3 separate regions of the Homo sapiens genome follow, and regions 2 and 3 are each linked to region 1. The links are contacts of gene promoters, found by promoter capture Hi-C in human tissues and cell types (Jung and others, 2019). All regions are on one chromosome and are shown on one strand. The core of a region is centred on a gene start or on the middle of the fragment in contact, and the rest is flanking DNA. Distances in the headings are between cores, read along the strand shown.

Region 1 (2,830 bases), core at 132-2,631:
GGGAGCCTGGGAGGCCCCTGCTCAGCCCCGGGGCCCCGAGAAAGGAGAAGGGGGAGCGGAGTGGCTGTTTGGCTGTGGTTTCCTCCAACTCCGCCTGCGAAGCTCTCGCTGGGAGCCCGGAGCTTTAGCTTTCCCCGGCAGCCCCGGCCCCCGCGCCCGCCGCGCCCAGCGGCCGGCGCCTCGCCCCGGGCCCCGGGGAGGAGGCGCGCCGGGGCAGCCGGCCAGGACACTGCGCTGCTGGCTCCTAGAGCTGCGGGCGCGCCTGGCCGGCCCCACTTCCCGGGTTGCTGGGGCGGGCGCCGCTGCCCCGACCCCGGACGCGCGGAACCCTGGAGACCCGGCCGCTCCCCGCCAGGGCCGCGGTGCTGCTCCAGGCTCCGGGCGGGCGCCCCTTTCCGGCTACCGGTGCACCCCGTTGCCCGCTTGCGGGAAGCGAAGAGGGGTCCCTTGATTTGCAACATAGAGGAAAGCGCCGCTTCCGCCCAGCCTGGCACCCACGCGCCCACACGCACCCGGCGCCGGCCGGGTCGCTCACCTGAGTCCTAAAAGCTGTTGAATCCACATGGTCACGTTTCGGGGAGCGGGGCCTCAGACCTGGCTCGCCCAGGCCATCTGCGCGGCGCCCGCGCCCGCTCGCTTCCGTCCCGCGGCGCCGGTCTCCGGCTCTCGGTCCGCCGCCTCCCGCCGCCCGCCGGCCGCGGGGCGCACAGCGAGTCAGAGCGCGGCCGCGCGGGGCTCCATGCCGGCCGGCGCGCCGCCGCCGTTGGGGCGCATGGCTCAGGCTGGGCGGCCCGCGGGGGCGCACATCCTCCGGCCGGGGCGCGGGGCTCGCGGCCCCCTCCGCCGGCGGCACAGCGAAGGCGGCAGCGAGGCGGGGCGTGTTCCGGCGCTGTCGCGGCGCAGCAAAGGGCTGGGGAGCCGCGGCTTCGCCCTCCGGGGCGGCGAGGAGGGAGGCCGGCGGCGCTGCCGCTCACGGTGCGTGTCTCCCGGCGCGCGGCTCTTGCCTCCAGCCGGAGCTCCGCGCCGATGGGGCGGCGCTGCTTAGGGTTTGGGGTGACGCGACGCGGACGGACGCGAGTCCCCTCCGCGCTGCCGGGTCGGGGGGCTCTGCCAGAGGCTCCGCCGCCGATCGGCGCCACTCAAGTTGCCCGGGGGCTCCGTCTGAGCGCTCGCTCTGCAGACGGCCGCGGCCCGGAGACTGGCAGGAGGCGGGCACGAGAGGCGCGCGGGGCGAGGGCGCCGTGGAGCGCGGGGCGTGGGGACGCGCGGCGGCGGCGCCGCGCGGAGGAGGCGCGCGGGGATCCCGGGGCCCCGCCGCCCGCGCCCACCGCGCCCGCCGCAGAGCCGCCCGCGCTGCTCAGCCGCCTCCCTCCTCGCGTCTGCCTCTCCGCGCGCTCGCCCCCGCCTCCCGGAGCCGGTCCCAACTCCGCCCGCCCGGCCCGGCTCACGTCACCCGCCTTCCCCGCCCCTCGAACGGGAGCTCGAGCCCCTGGCCTGGCCCCGGCTCCTGCTCGCCGCCCCACCTTGCGGGGGCCGGGGTCGCCGCGGGTGGTGGGGGGCGCTGTGCCCAGCAGGGGCGACAGCGCAGGCGGGGCCTCCTGCAGCCCCCTTCCCCATCCCCGGTCGCGTCCCGGTCCCCACCTTGCGAAAGGCTCGAGAGAGGCCGCAGGCTAGGATTGGACCGCCGGGCGCCGCCGGATGGTGTTGCCAGGGTAACCGGATGGCACGCGAAGCCGTTCGAGGTTCCGACCCGGTTACGGGGGCGCCCAGTGGACCCGGAGAGCTACTTTGGGGAGGGGGCGGCCCCGAAGAAGGACTGGGTGGGGGCGCATGGAGCGGGGGCTGCGCGAAAAGTTTCCTGGGGCGGAGCTGAGCCACGCGGGCCGCGCAGGAGCGTCTGTCCGAGGGTCGCCTACGAGGGACTCCTCTGCTCGGCTGCGCGGGCTTCTGCGTTGATGAAGTCACCGCGTTCCGGGTCGGAGCTTCGGCGCTTCTGCCCCGAACCCAGCGAAGCCCGGTCCTATGCCCCCAATTACCCAACGGTCCCTCATCGCCCAGCGCAGCTGCTGCCTGGCCAGGCCCTTGCTCCGGAGGAGTCACTGGAAAGTTCCAGGGAATCTGGGCCTCCCGGACTCTCCACCGGCGTTTCACTGCTCCCTTCCCATGCCAGGACTCCTCTGTGCCTACCTGGTTAGTCTGTATTTGCAAAAAACAAACAAAAACAACAACAAAAAACAAATGGGGGGCACTTAAAGGAGGACAGACGCTGGGCGGGGACCTTTCACTGAGAGAAGTGACATGGGGCGGAATCCTCTGCAGACCCGCTGACGCCTTGAGAAACCACGGCAAAACCCTGCTTTTAATCCTCCACAGGCTGAGGGCAGTGCAGAATCCGGGCCTTGGAAAGGACACTGGTGCCACCCTTCACTGGGGAAAGGTGCAAGGGGCGGGGGATATACCATGCCGAGCCTTCGCTCTGTGCTCTGTGCAGGTGCTTGACCCAGGCCAGCTCTGGAATCGCCCCAGGCCATGTGAGAGCCGTGGGGGGTGAGAGGGGCGGGAAGCACTTCACAGGTGAGGCCTCCCTGGGAGGGGCAGCCAGTGAGGGGGTGGAAGGGCAGAGCCAGGAGGACCATGGCTTGGGGCTCAGTCTCCCAGGCGAACCATAGCTTGGGGCTTAAGTCCCCCAAGCAGCCCTTTCACCCCCAGGCCTCCAGGATCTTTGCCAACGGTCTTGAGGAGCCAGGCACAGGATTGGACTCTGCCCGGGCAGGAGGATGAAGACAGTGACTTCCCCACCAAGACTCCCGGCAGAGGGCCAGAGGCAGGG
Region 2 (2,700 bases), core at 118-2,617, 950 kb before region 1:
TGAGAGAGAGAGGGAGAGAGAGAGGAAAAGAATAATCCATTGACAGCCCTTGGAAACACAAAATTCTTACTGTTAAAAACAATTAAAGGGAAAGAATTAGCCAATTATTCTTTACTGATCAGAAATATATAGCCCTGGTTGATGTGGGATAGTGCTTAAGAGAAGAATCTTAGCTAATAAATGGGAAAGTATTGTTAGAAAATACATTTTTTTAAGCCCTGACTGGAATAATGGATTCAGGCAAAGATTATCAATGGACGGAGCCATTAGAGAAGTTAGGGAGCTTGCCCTGGGTCACACAGCCAAGAAGCAGCAGAGGCAGGATCTGAACCCTGCCAGCCTGATTTGTGGCCATGACAGCACTGATATGGTTTGCCTGTGTCCCCACGCAAATCTCATCTTGAATTGTAATCCCATTATCTCCACATGTTGTGGGAGGGACCCGGTGGGAGGTAATTGAATCATGGAGGTGGTTTCTCCCATGCTGTTCTCGTGACAGTGAGTGAGTTCTCATGGAATCTGATAGTTTTATAAGCATCTGGCATTTCCCCTGCTGGCACTCATTCTTTCTCCTGCCGCCCTGTGAAGAGGTGACTTCCATCATGGTTGTAAGTTTCCTGAGGCCTCCCTAGCCGTGCAGAACTGTGAGTCAGTTAAACCTCTTTTCTTTATAAATTACCCAGTCTTGGGTATTTCTTCATTGCAGTGTGAGAACAGACCAATACAGGAACTTTCCCTCATACATTGGTAATAAGTGCATTCACTCATTAAGCAAGTACTCATTGTGAACTTAAACTGCTGGGGATATGTCGGTGAACATAATCCATGCAGTCTGGTCTCACTGCGAGCACACACACAGGGGGTTAAACCCAGGACTGTGGGCATGTGGGAGATCATTATACTCTTCCCTGTACTCTGCTGTATGTTTGAAGGTTTTTCACAGCAAACATAAGAAAAAGTAATTAAGGGAGATTAAATCAGTATTGTATTGGCATCCAATTTAGTCTTAATAGTTCAGATGCATAGCATCTACTTATCACAGCAAAACGATGAAGCTATTTTGATGCACGTGACATTTTAAAATTCGGGATTATGAAAGACATTTCAGCATCCCCCTTATTTCCAAAGCTTTTTTCAGTTGAAACATGCCAGGAAAGTCTCGATTCTCCTAGAATGTGGCTACAAAGAAAAACAATCTTTAAAAAGTCCACCTTGCAATCCCAAGATTCTTTCCAATTAAATTGGTACCAAGGCTTGGAAGACAGATTTATGCTCCTTATGATTAAGATGAAAGTTCGATAGGAATCCTTCAGGTTTTAAGTAACCATTTAAACTGATTCCAGAGTGACAGAATCTCCTGCTTCTCCTGCTGCGTCTCCCACACCCCATGCCGCGTCTCCACACCCCATGCCGCGTCTCCACACCCCATGCCGCGTCTCCCACACCCCATGCTGCGTCCCCACACCCCATGCCGCGTCCCCACACCCCATGCCGCGTCTCCCACACCCCATGCTGCGTCTCCACATCCCGTGCCGCGTCTCCACACCCCATACTGCATCCCCGCACCCCATGCTGCGTCTCTACACCGCATACTGCATCCCTGCACCCCATGCTGCGTTCCTGCACCCCATACTGCGTCTCCACACCACATCTGCATCTTCCACACCCCATGCTGCGTCTCCGCACCCCATGCTTGCTGGTTTCTCCCTTGTAATGAGAATGAGCTTTATGCACTTGAGCCTGACCCTTGCCCAGCATTAACGGAGCCCAGGGTGTGAGTGCTGCCAGAGTGTACCTTCAGCCCTCCTTATCCACGACACACTTAATCAATCCCGAATCCTCAGGAAGAGTGCCAGAGCCTTGGTTCCAGGTTCGCCCTAGGAAGGAGGTGGCCTGTCAGTCAGGAAACAGCCTGCTGGTCTGTGACGTGTGAAACTTTTCCTTTAACACCTTTGGGAATGTGTTGATTTTTCATTACCTCTAAAAATAGTTTAAATTTAATTACAGTGAAATTTTGTAGAATCATTTTTGGAATCCTTGAACAAATTCTGAGGGGTTCTGGGCTACATGGTCTGAAATCTCATCATGTGTGTCTCTGAAGACCCTAATCTCATTCTGCTTTGGATTATGGCTAGGAGTCAGGAGTTATTCTGGATGTAGAGACTGAGTTGTGTTCTTAAGTAGGGCTTAAAAAGTTTGGGGCCATTGTTCAGGCTTAACACATGGGGAATGAACTGAATGAATGTATGGTCCCCCTCAAGGACAAGGAACTTTCATTCTGTGGTATCCAGAGGACTCAGCATGAAACCTGGGCGATGGTAGTGAATAAGTGAATGAATGAATAAATGAATGAATAGAAAAGACTCTTTGACTCCTGGTGCCATTGTAACATGCAGCCCTGTCAGGGAAGGGAGTTGGTCCTGTCACCCACATTGCCCGGAGCTTGGCTTTGGAAAGCCAGCCAGCATAATCTGTCATCTGCAAACCTCATGCATCCTTTCCTGCTTAAGTGCTTAGAGGAACCCACATACGTGAGAGGTTCGTTTGTCATCCCCTCTTCTGTTGGGGGCACCAGGGGCTCCCCCACCCACAGCCCATGCTTTTGAGCAGACGGGTGAGTTTAGATAAAGCAATTCCCACGCTCCACTGCTTTCCAGAGATGGGGGCTCACGGTTGGTGGATCCTGGAAGATGAATGACA
Region 3 (2,700 bases), core at 38-2,537, 980 kb before region 1:
AGGTCCCGAAGTTAGATAATATTTGGAGAGCCTTGCATGGCCAGCAAAACATGTTTTTAATATTGACCTTCACCCTACAAATTAAAAACTGTTGCCCCTTTCACATTGACCCACCCACCTGGTAGAAGGTAGAAAGGTTCATCTCTGAAATCGCCCTGAGACCCAGGAGGTGCTGGGGGTGGGGAAGCCATCTTCTGATTGGAGAGACCAGCTGTCAGTCATTTTGTGCTGGACACAGGTTCTCAGGGCTCCTGGTTTCTCTAAGAATGGACAAGGACAGCACTCACCCTGTTGCCAGCCTCCTTCCATGCAGCTCCAACTGCAGCCGTAAGTGAACAGTATTTCTCAAAGTTGTTTACAGCTTTGGAAAACATAAACGCCTCATTACCTGTGTGGAGCATCCTCCTGAGAGACCCTCTCCTGGTGCCAGGCCCCTGGGGAAAATCCCGCTATCTTTTGTTTCTGTACAAGCTAACGGGACTTTGTTGAGCCTTACTTTCCCTAATTTACTATAAGGAATAAAAAAATGGACTTTCCCATAACACAAGATCTTCCTATTGACCAAGCTGAATAAACTCCATGTGCCCCACCCATCTTCCATCAGCTGAGAGTCAGGTCTGTTTCCTTAATGGAATCCCCCTCTAAGTCACGGCCTCTGACACAATCACAGCTCAGCTGTGCTTCTTACTGGCAGGACTTTTCCCAAATCACGTGGGTATTTGTGCTGGTTTCCTGCCCTCTGCTGTGGGGTCTGTGATGTCTGAGGCCTTGTCTCTTGTGTCCATCGGGAGACCCTGTATGCCTGGCACATGGCAACACATGAGCACAAGGGCAGGGACTGTATGCGTCCTGCTTACCGGAGCACCTGAACATAGGAAACACCAATACCTGTGGGCCAAATGCACCTGTTGTATTCATTTCTTAGGGCTGTCCTAACAAATAACCATAAACTGGGGGGCTTAAAACAGCAGAAATTATTGTCTCACAGTTCTGGAGGCCAGAAGTCAAAAATCAGAGTATCTGCACAGCTGTGCTGCTTCTGCAGGCTCTAGGGCAGCGGTCCCCAACCCCTAGGCCATGGACAGGTATCATCAGTCCATGGGCTGTTAGGAACTGGGCTGCGCAGCAGGAGGGGAGTAGTGGGTGAGCAAGCAAAGTTTCATCTTATTTACAGCTGCTCCCCATGGCTCACATTACCAGCCTGAGCTCTACCTCCTGTCAGATCAGCAGTGGCATTAGATTCTTATAGGAGCAAGAACCCTACTGTGAAGTGTGCATATGAGGGATCTAGGTTACACCTCTCTTTATGAGAATGTAATGCCTGATGATCTGTCACTGTCTCCCATCAGCCCCAGATGGGACTGTCTAGTTGCAGGAAAGCAAACTCAAGGCTCCCACTGATTGTACACTATGCTGAGTTATAGAATTACTTCATTATGTATTAGAAAGTAAGAATAATAGAAATAAAGTGCACAATAAATGTAATGTGCTTGAATCATCTCAAAATCAACCCCTCCTCACCTCTCTGTGGAAAAACTGTCTTTCTCAAAACCAGTCCCTAGTGCCCAAAAGATTGAGGACTGCTGCTCCAGGAGAAGATCCTTTCTTGCCTCTGCCACTTCTGCCATCTGCTGGCAGCCCCTGGCATACCTTGGCTTGTGGCCACATCTCTCCAATCTCTGCTGCTTTCTCTGCATGGCTTTCTCCCCTCCGTGTCTCTACGCCTATGTCCAAATTTTTCTTTTCTTATAAGGACCACAGTCATTGGATTATGGCCCACCCCACTGTAATGTGACCTCATCTTCATTTGATTACATTTGTCAGGGCCCTATTTCTTAATAAGATTAGATTCACAGCTACCAGGAGTCAGGACTTGAACGCATCATTTGGGGGACCCAACGTAACCCACAACACTGATGGATGCAAAATTAGGAATAAGAGAGGGGCCCAGCTTCGCATCAGGGATCTGCAGTTTTGAACCAAAAGGATGAATGTGAAGCAGCACCACACATATGGTTTACATACAGTATTCCTGTTCTCATGCACTATTTCATGAGATGATGAGACTCACGAGATGGTGTGATAAAAATAATAATAGCCAATATTTGCTGAATGCTGGATCCATGTCGGGTCTGAACTCAATGTTTTATGGGGATCATCTCATTTATTCTCCATTGTTGCCCTACAATGGGGTCATTCCCCTCTCCCCTTCCTTATTCACAAACATCCAGTGAGCTCTTCTTTACTGCGCCGGGCAGTGGATGGGGCACAAACACTGACATCTTCATTTCTAAAGCTGAGAGTCCAAGGAAACAATTTTGGTTAAATCTTCCCTTTCTCCACATCCCTTGCTAGCACTCAAATCATAGTCACTTTCCTCCCCAATGTGCTGCCTCCTCATAAATTTTGTAATCCTCAAATTACATTTCTGTCATCTGCCCATTCGTTTTATTACCTGCCGATAAAGAAAAGGTCAAAGTCAGTAATTCCAGATTTCAGAAGTGTTTAATCATCGCTGATAAATAGAAACCCTTTCTCCAAAAAGGCAAAATGATAACATTAAAATTTTAAAAAATTTGTTGTCAGAATATTTTTAAGAGGACAGTAACCTTTCCATCTGACCTGCTCTTTGGTGAACAAATCAAACGACACAATTATGTCTTCCCTGAACTTCAGTGGCTTTGAGTCTGAATGCGTTAG

Evidence for each region. The method cuts DNA at HindIII sites, captures the fragments that hold promoters and counts their contacts. A contact is called where the count stands out against the background at its distance.
Region 2: a fragment that was not itself captured here is called in contact with the fragment with the promoter of AJAP1 in region 1 in 1 of the 25 tissues and cell types used here (dorsolateral prefrontal cortex).
Region 3: a contact is called between a fragment that was not itself captured here and the fragment with the promoter of AJAP1 in region 1, in 1 of the 25 tissues and cell types used here (dorsolateral prefrontal cortex).

What each region holds. Positions count from the first base shown.
Region 1 is chr1:4,653,160-4,655,989 of GRCh38, reverse strand. AJAP1 (adherens junctions associated protein 1) reads right to left here and starts at 1,381. Exons shown (of 6, transcript NM_018836.4): 1 at 536-1,381. The coding sequence starts at 564. The HindIII fragment of the contact is 14,001 bases long and covers 1-2,830 here.
Region 2 is chr1:5,600,620-5,603,319 of GRCh38, reverse strand. No RefSeq gene overlaps it. Among named protein-coding and RNA genes, the nearest start is that of MIR4689, 260 kb to the left of the region's middle. The HindIII fragment of the contact is 6,647 bases long and covers 1-2,700 here.
Region 3 is chr1:5,636,303-5,639,002 of GRCh38, reverse strand. No RefSeq gene overlaps it. Among named protein-coding and RNA genes, the nearest start is that of MIR4689, 230 kb to the left of the region's middle. The HindIII fragment of the contact is 3,885 bases long and covers 1-2,700 here.